Regions from separate parts of the Homo sapiens genome. Here all the other regions are linked to region 2. The links are contacts of gene promoters, found by promoter capture Hi-C in blood cells and fetal thymus (Javierre and others, 2016). All regions are on one chromosome and are shown on one strand. Each heading gives the region's core, a stretch centred on a gene start or on the middle of the fragment in contact. The rest is flanking DNA. Distances are from core to core; before and after follow the strand shown.

Evidence for each region. The method cuts DNA at HindIII sites, captures the fragments that hold promoters and counts their contacts. A CHiCAGO score of 5 or more calls a contact.
Region 1: a contact is called between a fragment that was not itself captured here and the fragment with the promoter of PAIP2 in region 2, in 1 of 17 cell types (erythroblasts). The highest score is 5.5, in erythroblasts.
Region 3: a contact is called between the fragment with the promoter of EGR1 here and the fragment with the promoter of PAIP2 in region 2, in 3 of 17 cell types (monocytes, fetal thymus and erythroblasts). The highest score is 10.3, in monocytes.
Region 4: a contact is called between a fragment that was not itself captured here and the fragment with the promoter of PAIP2 in region 2, in 1 of 17 cell types (monocytes). The highest score is 8.4, in monocytes.
Region 5: a contact is called between the fragment with the promoter of REEP2 here and the fragment with the promoter of PAIP2 in region 2, in 1 of 17 cell types (fetal thymus). The highest score is 6.4, in fetal thymus.

The regions. Positions count from the first base shown.
Region 1 is chr5:138,587,835-138,591,758 of GRCh38, forward strand. No RefSeq gene overlaps it. Among named protein-coding and RNA genes, the nearest start is that of HSPA9, 14 kb to the left of the region's middle. The HindIII fragment of the contact is 3,000 bases long and covers 1,122-3,924 here.
Region 2 is chr5:139,339,512-139,343,509 of GRCh38, forward strand. It overlaps PAIP2 (poly(A) binding protein interacting protein 2), which reads left to right and starts at 2,343. Exons shown (of 4, transcript NM_016480.5): 1 at 2,343-2,469. The HindIII fragment of the contact is 3,993 bases long and covers 1-2,848 here.
Region 3 is chr5:138,463,299-138,467,137 of GRCh38, forward strand. It overlaps EGR1 (early growth response 1), which reads left to right and starts at 2,181. Exons shown (of 2, transcript NM_001964.3): 1 at 2,181-2,770; 2 at 3,459-3,839. The coding sequence starts at 2,464. RefSeq lists silencers at 785-1,054, 1,375-1,774, 1,785-2,134, 2,225-2,434 and enhancers at 967-2,166, 1,239-2,079, 2,080-2,919. The HindIII fragment of the contact is 6,642 bases long and covers 1-3,839 here.
Region 4 is chr5:138,528,121-138,532,107 of GRCh38, forward strand. The region is part of intron 2 of ETF1 (eukaryotic translation termination factor 1); the gene reads right to left. Among named protein-coding and RNA genes, the nearest start is that of ETF1, 13 kb to the right of the region's middle. The HindIII fragment of the contact is 1,994 bases long and covers 1,524-3,517 here.
Region 5 is chr5:138,436,883-138,440,848 of GRCh38, forward strand. REEP2 (receptor accessory protein 2) reads left to right here and starts at 2,175. Exons shown (of 8, transcript NM_001271803.2): 1 at 2,175-2,358. The coding sequence starts at 2,327. KDM3B (lysine demethylase 3B) reads left to right here. Exons shown (of 24, transcript NM_016604.4): 24 at 1-145. RefSeq lists a silencer at 2,003-2,422 and an enhancer at 2,808-3,341. The HindIII fragment of the contact is 657 bases long and covers 1,780-2,436 here.

The DNA.
Region 1 (3,924 bases), core at 1,372-3,871, 750 kb before region 2:
CCAAATGTTGGGCCAGGCTCAGTGGCTCATGCCTGTGATCCCAGCACTTTGGAAGGCCGATGCAGGAGGATCACTTGAAGTCACGAGTTTGAGACCAGCCTGCGCAACATGGTGAAACCTCATCTTTATAAAAGATATGTACAAAAATTAGTTGGGCGTGGTGGTGCACACCTGTAGTCCCAGTTACTCAGGAGGATGAGGTGGGAGGATCACTTGAGCCCAGGAGGCAGAGGTTACAGTGAGCTGAGATCATACCACTGCAGCCTTGGCAACAGAGTGAGACCCTTCCTCAAAACAAAACAAAACAAAACAAAACAAAACAAAACAAAACAAAACAAACACAAATGGTGAGCTCCTATTCATCCTGTAAAGCCCACCACTTAAATCTCACCTTCTCTGTAAAAGCCTTCTCTGGCTTCTTGAGCTTGTCACTTGATCCTCTGTGCTTCTAGAGAACTTATCCACAGTTCCATCACAACATATCACAGAGGATTTAATTATTTGCTGGAATGGCCATTCCTCTGAATAGATAATGAGCATATTAAGGGCAGGAAGAGAGTTTTAGTAATCTTGGTATTGCTAGTCCTCATCATTTCTGACACAGAGTAGAAACTCAGTGACTAAATTTTCTTCTTTTTTTTTTTTTATTACCCTGTCCACCTGAGCAGTAACATGCAGCCTTGGGAGAGAACAAAGCTTTTTTTAAGTTGCATTTCATCATAACTTATGGATGCCAAGACTAACTCATAAAGCATTGACTTGAGTCCCCTGTAGGGATGCCTGCAGGCAGAGAGCAACCGAAACAAGGAGAAACTTTGTGCATTCTCAATGTGTCCTGGGATTTGCTGTAGATTCTGGGCAAATCTAGTTCTGTTCTTTATTCCTGTATATCACTAGGACTTTTATGTCTTTGTCTTTTCGCTGAAATCATTCTAATCTAGTTCTCATCCTTTCACACTTGAACTGTAGCAACTGCAGCAGGTATGACTCTCAGTTTATAAATTCATGTGTGTAGGAAGTATCACATTTATTTATATTCTTAAATAAAGGTAAACTCCAATTACATGCTCTGATCCCATCTGACTGTTGGGAAAGTTAATCTAGCTTATTTCTTGTCTTCAAGCTTGCGTTATGGTTCCAAGATCTTATATTTTGGATGAGATTGGAGGGAGCTTTGAGTTGTCCCATCATTTGTACCATCACTTGAGGCCCAGGTACTGACAGCCTGCTCTTCATCCTTGCCTCATCCTCTGGCCTGGGGTCCTATCTCCTAGATATACCATGAGGCCAGGCCTCTCTAGGGTCTTGCTCCCTTCTTAGGTGCTGTCATGCCAGGGATCAAGGCCTGGGTTCCCTTGTTCCAGGACCTACAAACATTCTCATTCCTGACCCCAAAGCATCTCTTTCTAGTCTGCTTGAAGTACCTTCCTGCATCATGCTGCTCTGAGGCCAATTTCCTTAAGTTCTAGGCTCTGTCTTGTTCTTCTACAGTGGTCTTTGATGGTCTTTTTATTTTTTACTTTTATTTTTATTTATTTTTGAGAGACAGTGTCTCACTCTATCACCCAGGCTGGAGTGCGGTAGCATGATCACAGTTCACTGCAGCCTTAACCTCCTGGGCTCAGGTGATCCCCCTGCCTCAGCCTGCCAAGTAGTTAGGATTACAGGCATGTACTACAATGGTTGGCTAATTAAAAAAACTTTTTGTAGGCTGGGTGCGGTGGTTCACACCTGTAATCCCAGCACTTTGGGAGGCGGAGGCAGGCAGATCACTTGAGGCCAGGAGTTTGAGACCAGCCTGGCCAACATGGCGAAACCCCGTCTCTACTAAAAATACAAAAAAAAAAAAAAAAAAAAAAAGCTGGATGTGACAGCGCCATGCCTGTAGTGCCAGCTACTTGGGAGGCTGAGGCAGGGGAATCGCTTGAACCTGGGAGGCGGAGGCTGCAGTGAGCAGAGATTGCACCACTACACTCCAGCCTTGGCGACAGAGTGAGGCCCTGTCTCAGAAAATTCTTTTTTTTTTTTTTTTTTGTAGAGACAGGGACTCACTCTGTCTGTCACCCAGGCTGGTCTCCAACTCCTGGGCTCAAGTGATCCTCCTGCCTTGGCCTGCCAAAGTGCTGGGATTATAGGTGTGGGCCACTGCACCTGGCCTTTTGATGGCCTTTTAAATCCCAAACCCATGTCACTGCAGCCATGTATTGGTTATGGTTTACCTTTTGGTGCATGTTTCTACTTTCCTCATTTAGATTTGTGAACCTTCTCGGGGCAGAGACTACCACTTTCTTGTATCCTGAGTCACCACAGGGCTTTTCATAGTGTGGGGGGCACTTATTAAATATTGATTAATTATGATAATGACGAGGACACAGGACTGTTTGTGAGCACACACAGCCCTGCCACACAGTGAGAATCAGGAAGATGAAGGGAAGAAGGGGCCAGGTTCATTATTGTCATATAATCATGAATATTTCACTGGTTTGTATCACCAAGGAGTAGCCTGTTTGTCCTGCTGCCAGCACAGGAGGAAGCATTTGCCCTGATAATGATGAACAAATTTCCTTGATCGAGTCCATGGGCCAGAGCTCCTCTGGGTGCTGGTCAGGCTGGCTTTGCCCTTCTTTGGCTTCTTCACAGGCTGTCTTGCCCGGCTCTCAACAATAGATTTCTCTGTCACGAATACAAACTAGCCAGGCCCTCTTGAACAAATCAACCTCCCCGACACCTGCTCAGAGCAATTAGCCTTCCAATGTGCTATGGTTAATAAACACGAATGGTTGTTATCTGCTTTTCCTTGGCTGGTCCTATGAGTGTCCTCACACAAATAGGCAGTTTGACCAGAGACCAGCTCCAACTCATACTTGGGTCAGAGAAATGGAACCCGGAACCCTCCTGCCTCAGCCTTCGGGGCTTCATGGATACTCCCTTACCTCAGCCTGCTGTGACCTCATGCCAGCCCCTCTCTGGCCTCCATTTGGATTCATCTGGTGATAAAAAATGAGCAGAGGAGATACCAGTATCATCTGGGTGGTGGGACTAGATGACCTTTAAATCCTGTGACTGCCCATCCTGCAAGTCTTTGATTCTATACTTTCCACTTGCTTGGTTTTTTTTGGAGACGGAGTCTCACTCTGTGGCCCATGCTGGAGTGCAGTGGTGCGATCTTGGCTTGCTGCAACCTCTGCTTCCCGGGTTCAAGCAATTCTCCTGTCTCAGCCTCCAGAGTAGCTGGGACTACAGGAGCTGGCCACCACGCCCATCTAATTTTTGTATTTTTAGTAGAGACAGGGTTTCGCCATGTTGGCCAGGCTGGTCTCGAATTCCTGACCTCAGGTGTTCTGCCCACCTCAGCCTCCCAAAGTGCTGAGATTACAGGCATGAGCCACTGCTCCTGGCCCACTTGCTTGTTCTTAATCAACATTTAAAATCCCCCAAAGGCCGGGAGCGGTGGCTCATGCCTGTAATCCCAGCACTTCAGGAGGCTGAGGAGGGCAGATCACCTGAGGTCAGGAGTTCGAGCCTGGCCAACATGGTAAAACCCCATCTCTACTAAAAATACAAAAATTAGCCGGGCGCGGTGGCACTCGCCTGTAATCTCAGCTACGTGGGAGGCTGAGGTAGGAGAATCGCTTAAACCTGGGAGGCGGAGGTTGCAGTGAGCCGAGATGGTGCCATTGCACTCCAGCCTGGGTGACAAGAGTGAAACTCTGTCTCAAAAAAAAAAAAACAAAAAAAAACCCAGAGTTGGGTGTGGTGGTGCACACCTGTAGTGCTGAGAAGAGGATCACTGGAGCCCAGGAGTTCAAGGCTGTAGTGTGCAATGATGGTGTGCCTGTGAATAGCCACCACACTCCAGCCTGGGTGACATAGTGAGATCCATTCTCTTAAAAAAGAAAAAAATCTCCCAGCTTCCTGCTGGTC
Region 2 (3,998 bases), core at 1,093-3,592:
AGATCTTAACCCCTTTGTGTGGGAAAAACAGCATTGGCCTTTGAGTGTTTCACATGATTTATCAAATATTTTTTATTACCATTATAACCAGTTAAGTGGCTTGTGTTACTAAATAACAAATTCAATTATCTCATGTTTACCTTTTTGTTTATTTGTTTGTTTTAAGACAGAGTCTCACTCTGTCACCCAGGCTGGAATGCAATGGCATGCTCTGGGCTCACCGCAACCTCCTCCTCCCGGGTTCAAGCGATTCTCCTGCCTCAGCCTCGCGGGTAGCTGAGACTACAGGCATGTGCCACCACATCCGGCTAATTTTTGTATTTTTATTAGAGATAGGGTTTCACCATGTTGGCCAGGCTGGTCTCAAACTCCTGACCTCATGATCTGCCCGCCTCAGCCTCCCAAAGTGCTGGGATTACAGGTGTGAGCCACCGCACCTGGCCTCATGCTTACCTTTTAAGAGAGTCTGGGTTAGGCCAGGCCCTGTGGCTCACGGCTGTAATCCCAGCACCTTGGGAAGCTGAAGCGGGCAGATCATTTGAGCCCAGGAGTTCAAGACCAGCCTGGGCAATATGGCAAAACCTCATTTCTACAAAAAATTCAAAAATTAGCCAGGCATGGTGGTACACACCTGTGGTCTCAGCTACTTTGCAAGCTGAGGTTTGAGGATTGCTTGAGCCAGGGAGGTTGCGGCTGTAGTGAACCGTGATCATGCCACTGCACTCCAGCCTGGGTGATGGAAGACTGTGTCTTAAAAAGAGAGTCTGAGTCATCTCAGACTATATAAATACCTATTTTGTTATGTTCAGACTTCCTTCAGCCTCAGATTGATAGCTTATCTTCACAGTTTAGAATATAGATCTGTAAGTGCTGCCAAGGTGGTTGACCCAGGAGCTAGGGCAGAACCATCTGCATTCATTTCTTTGGGGCTTTGGACTGGCCCAGAAGAGTATTCAGTGAATGAAATAGCTCTGAAGAGGAACAACCCGGTTTCTAAATTCAAGCCTTCCCATGGAGGGAATTTTTTGTCTTAGTAAATACTACAAGCATATAGTTTTTAAAAGATTCAAATTTTTCAGGAGAAAAGGATAGTTATTTGCACCCATTTCCTAGTCGGTCATTTGCCCTCTCCAAAGGGAAGAAATTAGTTTGTGTCCCTTTTTCAAAGATAGTATCTACACATTTGAACATCCAGATTTGTAAAACACATACTCTCGGCCGGGTGCGGTGGCTCACACCTGTAATCCTAGCACTTTGAGAGGCGGAGGCGGGTGGATCACGAGGTCAGGAGATCGAGACCATCCTGGCCAACACGGTGAAACCCCTATCTCTACTAAAAGTACAAAAATTGGCCGGGTGTGCTGGCGTGCGCCTGTAGTCCCAGCTACTTGGGAGGCTGTGGCAGGAGAATCTCTTGAACCCGGGAGGCGGAGGTTGCAGTGAGCCGAGATGGCGCCACTGCACTCCAGCCTGGGCAAGAGAGCCAGACTCCGCCTCAAAAAAACAAAACAAAACAAAAAAACAAAAACATACTCTCTTCTTTACATTGCTTAGTGTCACTAGAAATATATCTTGGGGCTTGTCAACGATGACAGGAAGGAAGCATGGGTAAGAATAACTATGGGGCCAGTGCACCCAGGATCACGGACTACAAAATTCTTGAACCCGGAGGTCACACTTTTCTATCCTGTGTGGACAGGGCATTTCCTCCTTTAGCCACAAAGAAGTTGCACATGTATTTGTATTTTGCGTTTGCATCCAGCTTCAAAAAGTGTGTTTTTGTGCCTGCACATGTCTGAGTGCGGATGTTTGCATATCATTTAGTACGCCTCTGTGATTTCCCTTAGTTTATTATTTTTCTGTGTCAGGATCTTGACGTGACTCGGTGCATGTCGCTGTTTGTGTGACATTGTGTATCATTCTTGGGGTGTGTATGGGTATGTGTGTGCTATGTCATTACCTAAATATTACGTTTTTGGGGGGGTGTGTGATGTCTGTGAAAGTCCACGCCTGTGTATCTTGTCAGGGTGCTCTTCAGTCCCCAGCTGCCTCACTCATTGCATATCATCATTCTCGGAAGATGGGCGGGTGTGGGAACAGTGGTACGCCCCCATTCCTGCCTTCCAGAGAGAACGTGCGACAGCGTTCCTGCTACACCCGGCAGCCGGCCGTAGGGGCGCGCTGGAAAGGCTGCTGCGCGTGCACACGTGTGCAGCCTTGGAGACAGACTTCGGGGTCGCGCGTTCTCGCGCGCGCTCTCTAGTGGCTTCGGAGGGCAGAGCTGACAGAACAAGAGGGCGGGGTTGGCGGCGACGGAAGTGAAGTCACTTCCGGGCTGGGGTGTTTGTTTGGACTGGAGAAGGGAGGCGGCGGGCGAAGCGCACGTCGAGCGGGGGAGCGGCGCTGCCTGTGGAGATCCGCGGAGGCCGACAGGATTCGTTGGCTGCCGTCCCCGCTGCTGTGCATTGGGTGAGGGGTCCTCTCGGGCAGAGTGGCGACAGGGGTGCGGAGGTCGAGGGACAGCAAGTCGGCGACGGCAGAGGGGCCTAAAGGGTTCCCTGGGTGGTTGGCCACCGAGTCCATTGCGGCCTCCGTTGTTCATTGCCTCTTTCCACCAAGTCTGAGGGATGAGCTTGGGCCGACTTCGTCTCTGTCTTCTCCGAGACATGGCCGTCGCTTTTTTTTCATTGTCATTATTAATGATTTGGATCTCGCAGCTCTCTATCCGGGTCCTCAGTGGCGCGAGGGTTGCCGGGATAGCACTTTCTCCTGTTCCTCATTCTCCCGGTCCTTTATCCCTCCGCCGGGTACCCTTTCCCCTGCCCCCCTCCCACCGCCTCGGCAACAAAGCTTATTGTTTCTACCCACTTTACGCCTGCGCGTCGCCACGCGCAGCCCCTACTTGCTGCGCGTGCGCGCCTCAGCCGAGGCTGGGGTTTGGGGAGAGAGGGGCGGAGGGACTGGCGGGCTCTTGGCGTCTTGGGGGAACGCTGCAACCGTCGACGGGCCTGATCAGAAGATCGTCTTTCTCCCGTTTCTTCGCCATCGCTACCCCTTATTTTTGGTTGTATTGCAGCTCATGCCCTGGAAAAAAGAACCTTTGGGGTACTGGGAACCCTTACCCTAGGAGGGCGTTGAGTTAGATGAACTTTAAGGTCCTCTTACCTTTTAATAATTTTCTGTGCTTACTCTCCTCCTTCCCCACCATCGCCACCAGAAATAAATAAGGCTTGTGGTGAACTTAGGTCTTCAAAACATTTGTTGCAGCAGCCAGCAGTGATATTTTTTAGGGACTCCTAAAAGGGGTCTTACCTGCTTCCTTTTGTTTCTTTTTTCCCTGATTTGGCACCCGTATCAACTCATAAAAACCCCAAACTCTAGAAAGAATTTGGCTTCCAATTTGCCTTGGAAGGTGTAGCAGCTGACAGCCTTTGACGTTTATTTCAACGGAAAGTAGATGTTCATGTTGGGTGTGCTGGCTAATGTTGAAACGTGGTGGCATTGTTTTTTCACAGATTTCATTAGCACAGTTAGATCAGGTGTTGGTTTATATTTTCATTAAGTCGCTTTTGAAATTTCTTCTGGCGTAGGTTGTGTTTGCAATAAGTAAAAGTTCTCTACAATAATTTTTAATGAGACTCCACTATTTGCTTTTGTGATTCTGTTTCCAGTTAGTGAAAGACAGGATATTTGGGGAAAATTAGTCTGTTTATACTACTTGTCAGTTGTGAACTTGAATAAAACTTTTTCACACACACACAAAATCACAGGATAGGTAACTTGACAAGAACTATAGAACCCACTTGTGTTTCTTTAAGGGATGGAGGTTAGGGAATGGAGATTTCCTCTAATGATTCAAGGCTGTGCACGTTGCTCCTTAGGAACTCAAATTGAGGTAGGTAATTTCACCCTCTTTTGGTCAGAATGAGTTTATAGCAGGCTTTTCCTTAAATAAGCACTCTGCACTTTATTCAGGTTTATCACTTTATGACTCTAGA
Region 3 (3,839 bases), core at 931-3,430, 880 kb before region 2:
GCCTGGGAGGCGGAGGTTGCAGTGAGCTCGCGCCACTGCACTCCAACCTGGGTGCCAGCGTGAGACCCCGTCTCAGAAAGAATAAAAACATTAAAAAAAAAATTTGGCTAAGGTACCCTACCAGGGAGTGGCAAAATGGACATTCAGACACAAGGCCATCTGCGCTGCAACAGCCTGGCCTTCCTGCCCTTGCGGCAGGAGTCCTCTGAGAGGCGCATCACTCCTGCCCCAATGGACAACTCGGTAGACAGTGGGAGTGAGCCCCCCACCTCCCCAGCGGACTTGAGACGGCAGGCTCCGAGACGAGGGAGTCCTGGTTCATTAAGTTGGTTTTTATAAGAAAACATGTTTGGAGGGGGGACAGCCACAGAGGGATTAAGTCCAAGAAAGTTACACCCTCCCCCACCTAATCCCCCTGACCCCGACCTCCAGAGGCTGTTGGGGTTCACAGAGGCCCTCACCTCCTCCCTTCCCTCTCGGTGTCGTCAAGCACCCTCCTTCCCCACATTCTCTTTCTGCTTTCTTTTTAAATCCAGAAAAAACAGCACCTCCTCTGGATTCAGAGCTAGAGCAGGAGGAGCCTTCCCTTCCCGGAATCCCTGTTCCCTTTGGGGTGAGCAACTGACTGCGTCGTGGGGGCGGGGAGGGCTTCCCTGTTCGCGTTCGGCCCCAGGGAGACCTGCGGGAATCGTTCTCCCTCGCCACCACCCACCCCCTGCTTCCTTCTCCCCCTCGCCTTGGCCAGGCTCGGGGTGAGGAGTGTTATCCCGGAGTCTGGGCGCCTCGGCAGTGACGGCTCCCCAGGGACTGCAGGGGGAGCCCGGGCTGCAGCGCCTGCTCAGTTCGTGCTCACTGCGTCGAAGGCTCCCCCGGCCTGGCTCCGCGCCCAGCGCCGCATCCGGGAGGAGGAGCGAGGAGGCGGCGGAAGAGCCCGCGCGGCCGGAGTCCGGGGCTGGGAGTGGAGAGGGAACCTCCAGGGGGCAGCACCGAGCCGCCAAGCCGGTCCTCTCTTCGCGCCCAGCCCGGGGTCCCCAGACAGCCCATAGGGAAGCCCCTCTTTCGGATTCCCGCAGTGTGGGCCGGCCCTCCACCTGGACTGGATAAAGGGGGGAAAGTGACCCCTCACCACAAGGACCATTATCTCCTGGTGAGAACAAGAATCAGGCCTCTCTTGGGGCAATCAGCTTCCCCACTTCGGTCCCCCAAAGGTGGGCTCTTTGCCGGCGGGGACTAGGGAACAGCCTTTCGGTTCCGGGGGAGCACAGGGGACCCCAGGCACCAGCAGCCCCATCCCACCGACAGGTGGCAGAGGCAAGGCAGCTCACTGCTATACAGTGTCCCAAGAACCAAGTGGCCGTGACTTCCTATCCTCAATTTCCCAGCGACACCCGGAAAGACACCGTGCCATAGATCGAGGCCCGGGGTCAAGGCCCCGCCTCTCCTGGGCGGCCCCTGCCCAGGCGGGCCCAGCCGCTCCTCCCCCGCACTCCCGGTTCGCTCTCACGGTCCCTGAGGTGGGCGGGCGGGCCCTGGATGACAGCGATAGAACCCCGGCCCGACTCGCCCTCGCCCCCGCTCTGGGTCTGGGCTTCCCCAGCCTAGTTCACGCCTAGGAGCCGCCTGAGCAGCCGCGCGCCCAGCGCCACACGCCACGAGCCCTCCCCGCCTGGGCGTCCCCGGATCCCGCGAGCGCTCGGGCTCCCGGCTTGGAACCAGGGAGGAGGGAGGGAGCGAGGGAGCAACCAGCTGCGACCCGGAAATGCCATATAAGGAGCAGGAAGGATCCCCCGCCGGAACAACCCTTATTTGGGCAGCACCTTATTTGGAGTGGCCCGATATGGCCCGGCCGCTTCCGGCTCTGGGAGGAGGGAAGAAGGCGGAGGGAGGGGCAACGCGGGAACTCCGGAGCTGCGCGGGTCCCGGAGGCCCCGGCGGCGGCTAGAGCTCTAGGCTTCCCCGAAGCCTGGGCGCCTGGGATGCGGGCGCGGGCGCGGGCCCTAGGGTGCAGGATGGAGGTGCCGGGCGCTGTCGGATGGGGGGCTTCACGTCACTCCGGGTCCTCCCGGCCGGTCCTGCCATATTAGGGCTTCCTGCTTCCCATATATGGCCATGTACGTCACGACGGAGGCGGACCCGTGCCGTTCCAGACCCTTCAAATAGAGGCGGATCCGGGGAGTCGCGAGAGATCCCAGCGCGCAGAACTTGGGGAGCCGCCGCCGCCATCCGCCGCCGCAGCCAGCTTCCGCCGCCGCAGGACCGGCCCCTGCCCCAGCCTCCGCAGCCGCGGCGCGTCCACGCCCGCCCGCGCCCAGGGCGAGTCGGGGTCGCCGCCTGCACGCTTCTCAGTGTTCCCCGCGCCCCGCATGTAACCCGGCCAGGCCCCCGCAACTGTGTCCCCTGCAGCTCCAGCCCCGGGCTGCACCCCCCCGCCCCGACACCAGCTCTCCAGCCTGCTCGTCCAGGATGGCCGCGGCCAAGGCCGAGATGCAGCTGATGTCCCCGCTGCAGATCTCTGACCCGTTCGGATCCTTTCCTCACTCGCCCACCATGGACAACTACCCTAAGCTGGAGGAGATGATGCTGCTGAGCAACGGGGCTCCCCAGTTCCTCGGCGCCGCCGGGGCCCCAGAGGGCAGCGGCAGCAACAGCAGCAGCAGCAGCAGCGGGGGCGGTGGAGGCGGCGGGGGCGGCAGCAACAGCAGCAGCAGCAGCAGCACCTTCAACCCTCAGGCGGACACGGGCGAGCAGCCCTACGAGCACCTGACCGCAGGTAAGCAGTGGCCTACGCCGAGGGGGAACCCTTTCGCCACCATCCTGGCGTCCTGTCCTTCACCGCAGGAGTGCTCCTGGATCTTAGAATGAGAGCCGGGTTTCCCTTTCATTCCTCGCATCCCCAGAGTCATGTGTTAGAGGGATGCCAAGGAACCCCACACAGCCCACCCCCTGCCCTCATCCCTAGCGGAGCGCAGAGGACCGAGCTTTTGTTTTGGATGGAGAGCTCTGGAGCTGCGTGGGTGGGTGGAGGGGGAGGGCTTGTTTTGATGAGCGGGGCTGCGCCCCCCACCTCCAGTAAGACTTGCCTTGCCTTGCTTGCCGCCTGTCCCCAAGGAAGGACCGTGATCCTTGGCCGTGGATGTCCCGGCAGCCCGGGTTTGGGGGCGCGCACTAGCCGCGGCCATGGGGGTGCTGGCGGGAATCCCTCGCCCGCACAGCCGCCGCTGCGGAGCGCTGCGAGCTGCAGTGGAGGGGGATTCTCCGTATTTGCGTCAGCTGTTGTTGAAATGGGCTCTGCCACTGGTGCGGGTCCAGGAACATTGCAATGTGCTGCTATCAATTATTAACTACCTCGGGAGTCAATGGTAGCCGGCCCGGTCTCTTGCCTGGCAGCTCGGGTCGTCCTCGTCCTCCAGTGATTGCTTTCCAGTAACCAGGCCTCCCGCTTCTCTCTCTCCTGCCAGAGTCTTTTCCTGACATCTCTCTGAACAACGAGAAGGTGCTGGTGGAGACCAGTTACCCCAGCCAAACCACTCGACTGCCCCCCATCACCTATACTGGCCGCTTTTCCCTGGAGCCTGCACCCAACAGTGGCAACACCTTGTGGCCCGAGCCCCTCTTCAGCTTGGTCAGTGGCCTAGTGAGCATGACCAACCCACCGGCCTCCTCGTCCTCAGCACCATCTCCAGCGGCCTCCTCCGCCTCCGCCTCCCAGAGCCCACCCCTGAGCTGCGCAGTGCCATCCAACGACAGCAGTCCCATTTACTCAGCGGCACCCACCTTCCCCACGCCGAACACTGACATTTTCCCTGAGCCACAAAGCCAGGCCTTCCCGGGCTCGGCAG
Region 4 (3,987 bases), core at 1,271-3,770, 810 kb before region 2:
TGACTTACAGAGAATAGTTTCCTAAGATGCAGTCGGCAGGGAATGGAATGAAAACGGATGGCAAAGGTAAAGTCTCAGAGCTGAGGAAGAACAGGCAACAAACCCCAAAGATTTGGAACGTTTAAGGCTAAAGAGGGGAGAAATTTGGGACAAATTAACTGAGAGAACTCAAAATGCCTTACAGCAACCCTTCAAATAAGATAATGATGTGGAGGGCAAAGCAATGACCTTAAGATAAGCAGCTACTTACTTTCCACTGCTGATAGTTTAAGAAGATAAACATTCATTAAGCAACCCTACTGTATAGCCCAGTTGGGCAACCTTACATTCCATATCCATGTAACATTCCAGAGGACCAAGGAGCAAATACACCTAAGAATGTAATCTTGTTATAGGATTCCACTTTAAAAAATGGCTCAAAAGTGTAGCTTGCCTAAGAATTGTTTTTTGTTTGGTAGATTTCTACAAAGTTGATAAATGAAACAAAACTTGAAACTTGGTCTTGGCTTCTTATTCCTTTTGAATTAGGTGCAAAAAATTACCTTTCACTAGTTTCCCTGCATGCCCCCTCCCCCTACCTTCTATGGGGGAAACATTAAGTTTCTGAATTTACCTTTAAAATAAGACACCTGACTAGGGAGGGGAAATGCAGATTATTAAATGGATGGCTTTCACTTTAAAAATTTAAAGGGTACTTTAATAACTTCTGATGTTTTGTATGTTAGGTTTAATACAAGCAGACTGGGCCAGGCATGGTGGCTCATGTCTGTAATCCCAGGACTTTGGGAAGCCGAGACAGGTGGATCACCTGTGGTCAGGAGTTTGAGACCAGCCTGGCCAACATGAGGAAACCCATCTCTACTAAAAATACAAAAACTAGCTGGGCGTGGTAGTGCATGCTTGTAATCCCAGCAGGAGAATCGGCTTGAGCCTGGGAGGCAGAGGTTGCAGTGAGCCAAGATCCCGCCATTGCACTACAGCCTGGGTGACAGAGCGAGACTCCATCTCAAAAAACAAAAACAAAACCAACAAAAACCAAAACCAAACAAACAAACAAACAAAAAAAACAAGCAGATTAACGTTTTTCCAGTAAAGTTTCCAAACAAGATAAACATTCATTTACCCTCACTCCTGCAAGTCAATCAAAGTTGTTAGACCAGTTTGTGTAAACACCCAAAATAAAATTAAGGAAGCTGAATACTTCCATGTCTTTTAAAGTGAACACCCTTCAGGGGAAAATGAAAAATAAAGCTCTCACTAAGGAGATGCTGGCTACACAGGCAAACTACAACCTTCTTTAACTGTAATAGTTTTCCTTCGTTTTTCTACTATCCCTATACTCCTCTTCCGAAATCAAAGAACTAGTGAATCATGGGGTACAGCAATGTGTCACATGCAGGTTGTAAAAACTGGGCAAAACAAGAGACAACATACAGCAATGTATCCCTCAAAGCTCCCAGGGGCCTCTGCACTCAGATTCTCTTCTTGTTCTCATTGGTTTTAGGGGCACTTTGGCTTATCAAAGCTTTCATCAATGCTTCGCCCAGAGGGTTAACGTCTGAAAAATCAAACAGGTGAAAAAAAGGAATTGTAACAGAACTAAACCAAATAAATCCCAAACAAAACTCAAGTAGAAAGATAATTTTTTTAGAGATGGGGTCTTGCTCTGTCACCCAGACTGGAGTGCAGTGGCACAATCACAGCTCACTGTAACCTGGAAACTCCTGGGTTCAAGTGATCCTCCCACCCTAGCCTGGGACTACAGGTACGCACCACCACGCTCAGCTAATTTTTCTTTTTATTTTCGAGATAGGATCTCACAAGGCTGCCCAGGCTGGTCACGAACTCTTGGGCCCAAACACTCCTCCCACCTCAGACTCACTGAGCAGCTAAGGTTATAGGCGCAAGCGACCGTGCCCGCCTGACCCACAAGGATCTTAATCAATGTTCACCATCATCAACAATGCTCAAGAACACTTCAGTTTGCATACCTCCCAGCCCTGAATCCTTTTAGAGCTTTCTAAAGAAGCAAAATAAAAGAATACATGCTCAGACACAAAAGATCCCTTCTTCCTCCATCCTGACTCAATAGTTTCTGAATAGGGAGAGTGAGGGTGGTGATGATTTTGGTTGAGACAGTCTCAATTTTGAAATATGAAAGATTTTTTTTTTCTCTGAGACAGAGTCTCGCTCTGCCACCCAGGCTACAGTGCAGTGGTGTGATCTCGGCTCACTGCAGCTTCTGCCTGCTGGATTCAAGTGATTCTTCTGCCTCAGCCTCCCAAGTAGCTGGGATACAGGCGCCCACTACCACGCCCAGCTAATTGTTGTATTTTTAGTAGTGATGGGGTTTTGCCATGTTGGCCAGGCTGGTCTCGAACCCCTGATCTCAAATTATCCACCCACCTCAGTCTCCCAAAGTGTTGGGATTACAGGCTTTAGCCACCGCACCCAGCTGATTCTTTTCTTTGAGACAGAGTCTCACTCTTGTCTCCTAGGCTGGAGTGCAGTGGCGCCATCTCTGATCTTTGCAACCTCTGCCTCCCCAGTTCAAGCAATTCTCCTGCCTCAGCCTCCCAAGTAGCTAGGGTTACAGGCACGCGCCACAATGCCTGGCTATTTTTAGTAGAGGCAGGGTTTCACCATGTTGGCCAGGCTGGTCTCGAACTCCTGACCTCAAGTGATCTGTCTGCCTTGGCCTCCCAAAGAATTGGGATTACAGGTGTGAGCGACTGTGCCCGGCCTCAAATACGCAAGATTCTAATGCAGAACTAGGGTTGAGAATCACTGCATCTGGCTTGCTTTCTTCACAGGGTCATCTCTAGGTCTGCTGAAGGTAACAAGCCTCCACAACCTCACCTCCACCCAAAGAAGAAGAACCCAGAGCAGTTGCTTGCTGCATTTACCCTATGCTATGGTTTGAAGGTGTCCCCCCAAATTCATGTGTTGGAAACTTAATCCCCACTGCAATAGTATTGAAAGGTGGGGCATATGGAATGTGTTTAGGTTATGAGGGCTCTGCCCTCATGAATAGATTCATGCTGCTATTTAAAATAAGGTGCTTATAAGACCTGAGAGCTACAGTCACACGCGCACACAAAAAAGATAAAATAAGGTGCTTATAAGTAGTGGGCCATCTCTCTTTTGTTCTCTTGCCATGAGAGGAACAGTGTTCCTCCCCAACAAAGGATGCAGCGTTCAAGGTGCCATCTTAAAAGCAGAGAGCAGGCCCTTACCAGAACACCAATCTGTGGTATTCTGTTATAGCAGCACAAAAACAAAAATCAAAAAACCCCCAAAACCTAAGACAACCTAGCTATAATACAACCATAATGAATTGTGACAGCTCAGAGATACTCAACTTTACCAGCCCGAACACTCACTCCCCCTCAAGTACTCTGCCATCCAAGTCATCACTTGTAAATCACGTTAACTACTTTCAGGTTAGGACCAGGAACGTTTTAGACACTGCTTACTATACTCCCTAACCGGGATGTACAGTACATGCTCCCCAAGAAGCTTTCATCCCAGGGTTTGATGGCTGGGTTGTGCCTAGGCTATGGATGGCCAAATTTTTCACCACTTCCCTTTTCAAGCTCCCATCTGTGCCTGCCTCACAAAGCTCAATTTAAATCTCAGCCAGAGGCCAGGTGCAGTGGTTCACACCTGTAATCCCAGCACTTTGGGAGGCCAAGGTGGGCGGATCACGAGGTCAGGAGATTGAGATCACCCTGGCTAACAGGGTGAAACCCCATCTCTACTAAAAATGCAAAAAAATTAGCCGGGCGTGGTGGCGGGCGCCTATAGTCCCAGCTACCTGGGAGGCTGAGGCAGGAGAATGGTGTGAACCGGGAGGCGGAGCTTGCAGTGAGCCGAGATCGAGCCACTGCACTCCAACTTGGGCGACAGAGCGAGACTCCGCCTCAAAAAAATAAAATAAAATAAATAAATAAATAAATCTCAGCCAGATCATTTCTGGGAAAGTCA
Region 5 (3,966 bases), core at 925-3,424, 900 kb before region 2:
TTTATATGTTCACAGTTACTTTTTTTTTTTTTTTTAAATAAAAGTCATTTAATGTAGAATACTTTTAATTTCACTTTCTGTATTTTAATTTTGTTGAAGGGCTGATTGGGATTTCCATGTTCTTATTAAAAATCTAACAAATCTGTTTGGAGTGGACTAAATTATTCGTGTACCAACCCTTCTAAAATCAACATCAGATTGGGAGTTGGGTTGGAGGTGGGGGATTCATTTCCAGGTCTTCATGACTGTGCTACACCCAGATATTTTTCTTTGCTTGTTGAGACTGTGCCATGTTAGAAAAAAGGAAAGTGCCAGGGTGAGGTCAGTATGGTTTGGGGAATTGGGGGTAAGGGGAAGGGGCCACATGAATTAGAGGGTAGAAAGAGAGACATGTTTCCCCATACTTTATGCTTTGTGAATGGAGTGGGAAAGTTGGGGTCCTCCCTTCCTGTGGCAGAGTCTGGGGGGAAGGGTCATGGTGTGTGGCCTCAGCAAAGTTGGACAGTCTGTGGTGGGATTCTTAAGCAGGCAGCCTGGCTGCCTACATGAAACGTGTGGCCATAGATCCACCTTAGAGATGGTGGGAGACACTCATGTGGGATTTATCAAGCAGTAATTAAAGTGTTTCATTGTGGGGTGATAACAGACTGCATTCCAATTAGGAGATGTTTTCTGGAGAGGAAGTTGTAAAGAATAGCAAGAGGGGTTATCAGAGGCTGCTTTTCTGGAACGTTTTGGGAAACATCTTCCAAAGTGTTTGAACCTGGAAATATAATTTACCAGGTTAGAAATAGACCATTGTGTTGTTCAGGGATACTGAGCTTGAATAAGACCATGACTCTTTGAAATACACAGTTCTGAATGTGTCCTTTCAGCCCAGATGGGCACAGGTTGATGCTGTGGTCACCCGAAGGATTACAACTCAACATAAAGGGTAGAGGAATGCAGAAGCTCTAAAATGGGACAGGAAAGGAGAGCAATAGGGCTGGGGGTGTTGGTGGATGGTTGGAGGTTGGTTGCTTTCCTGAAGATCAGGAGGCAGGCTAGCCTACATTCTGGATATAAATGTCTTTAGAATCAGGACATTCACTGCCACTAGTGCTTGCTGATGGGGGTGGAACTGGAGCCCCAGGACCCTCTCGCAGCCCCTCTGTTTGAAAAGAAGGTTGACCCTTTGTTGTCAGTAACCACATTGAGAGCATAAAGCTCTGTTCCGCTGCAAAGCTTAGGAGCTGACAACCTAAAAAAGCAGACCAGCAGCCCGGTGGCTCACACCAGTGATCCCAGCACTTTGGGAGGCTGAGGCGGGTGGATCGCTTGAGCTCAGGAGTTGGAGATCAGCCTGGGCAATATTGCAAAACCCCATCTTGGCAAAAAAAAACAAAAAACAAAAAAACAGGAATTAGCTGGTGGTGTTTTGGGCCTGTAGTCCCAGCTACTCGGGAGGCTGAGGCGGGAGGATCATTCAAGCCCAGGAGGTGTGCTGAGATTGTGCCACTGCACTCCAGCCTGAGCGACAGAGTGAGGACCTGTCTCAAAAAAACAAAACATCATCTGGTCAGGGGAGATCCTCTTTCAACGGGGTGAGAAGGAGTGGGGTGGACAGGTGCGGCTGTACCTGTGACTCAGGAGCTCAGGTGGATGTCTTCAGGGCCTGTAATGAGGAGAGTTTGCTAGTCAGCAGTTGGGGGATGTAACCTGTTTAAAGTAGGCTTCCTGGGGTCATCTTAGCAGCATGACTTGGTGGCTTTGTGACTCTCAACAGATTATTGAGCCTTAAGCTTCTCATTCCCTTATCTTCAAAATGAGGGCTTTTATAGCGCCTGCCTTATAGGGTGGTCAAGAGGATTCACTGGCAACGCAGTGAAGCTCTTAGCACAGGGGCTGGCACACAGTAAGCGCCTGGTGTGGGCAGGGCAGGAGGTGGGCAGGGGTCGATTTCAGGATGTAACCATGGAGACCTCCACGACAACAGCCTAGGGCTTGAAACCCAAGAAAGATGAACAAGCGATTCGAGGAAGGCAGGGCACTGAGGGTCGGAGGCGCATGCCCGGCCACAGCAGGTGCCGGGGCGGGGGCGCGCCGCCGCCGCCGCGGCGGCCTCCCGGCCTCCCCTTTAAGAGCCGCCACCGCCCACGGCCCGCCGCTGCGGCAGGGACCTCCCCTTTAACGGCGGCGCTGGGCGCTCCGCTGCCCCCGCGGCGGCTGCTGCAGCGGCTGCTGCTGCTACTGCGGCTCCTGCTGCCGCCGCCGCCGCCGCTCGGCCTCAGGCAGCTGCATCCTCGGCCGGGCCGGGTCCCCGCCCCGCGCCGCGCCCGGCCCCGCCATGGTGTCCTGGATCATCTCTCGCCTGGTGGTGTGAGTGCGGCGGCGGCGGGGGGTGATGCGGGCTGTGATGGAGGGCGGGGGTGTTAAAGCCCGGGTGGACTTCTCCGAAGCTTCGTGCAGCAGAGTCACCTAAAGGCGCTGCGTCCTTATTTGGGGCCCCCAGAGACATGGAGATGTGGCACCCAGGACTGGAGGGGGGAATATTAGGGGAGCGTGGCAGGCCTGGCTTCCCAGGGACCTCACCCACATTCTTTATTAATAACCTCTTTTATTTCTACCGTCCTTGCTCCTGCGCCCATCCTAGAGGCTGAGCAGCACGGCTTGATTTAAAAGGGGAGGCAGGCGCGTCCCCTCCCCCACCTAGCAGGTCTGGGCTGGAGGAGATCCTCAGACCCGGGCCCTGTCCCTCTGGGGGAGGTAACAGGGTGATGGAAGAGAGTGGAGCAAGGCAGGGCCTCATCATCATTCCGCAGCTCAGAGCCATCACCAGGCCCCTTGGTCTCTCCCTTCCACTCACTGTCAGGAGACTGGGGACGAGGGCATATGCCCTTAGGCCCCCTAGGGAGGAAGTCTGGGTATCGGGAAGCAGAAATGCTCGGAGGACAAAGTGTGAGAGGTAACTGGGAGAGGGGATGTGTGTGCTCAGCCTGGGATTGTGGACCCCGCTGGGGGAGGACGCTCCGTGGCCTTCATTCCAGGCTGCCAGCCACACTGTGGAGCTGTGTCTCTGGCACCTCCCCGGGCCCCAGGAGGGAACACACACCATTCCCCACGAGCCCAGACTTTGTCCTTGAGGATTCTGCTCCGCACTCCACTTGCACCAGCCGGTTTGGAAGTATCCCTCCTGTCCATGTGGAAACAGGCGACAGCCACACATTGTCAAGGGGCTGAGCCTGACAGGGGCTCCTCGTGGTTCTCGGAGCTATCCCCTGCCCTAATGAGGACACTGCCCCTCGGCCTCCACCGTTGGGGACTGACACCGGCAGCCCCACCCTGCTCCCTTCTTCCCATTCGGTACAGCCGGGCCGGCCAAGTGCTTCTGTCCTGGTTTACTCTAGACTCCTTCTCTTCCCCCACCCATCCCAGGGGGAATGGAGGGGCCTCACGCCTCCATGTGGCCTTCAGGGTGGCTGCTTCTCTCTTGCCTGGGCAAGCCCCAAAGGGCATCGGTCCTCTTCTTTCCCGGCCTGTGTCTTGTCTGCATTCTGTACTTGGATCACCAGCGGGGCCCTCCCCTGAGCCCTGTCCCTGTGGTGTTTACATGGGGGAATAAGCCTCTTTGCCTCTCTCAGGGCCTCCTGCCCCTGTGCCCTCTGTTCCCTAGGGCCCCAGGGCCACAGTGGTACCTCTGCCTGCCAGGTAGGGTGCCCTGTTAGGTGGTGTCAGGTTCCCTCGCAGAGCCTGGCTCTGAGGGAGGTGGAGGGTAAGGGCAGATGGGTGTGAATGGGCATGAGGTCAAGAAGGAAGACACCCTGTGGCAGTGACCTGACTCCCAGTCTCCATGACATATTTGTGTGTAACCAAGGATCATGGCGCAAGGGACTACATTGGACCCTCTGGCCTCTGGGCCTTTCCCTGCCTCCGGGGCTAGAGAAAAACTGAACAGTGGAGCGGGGAGGGGGCATCACCCTACCTGGC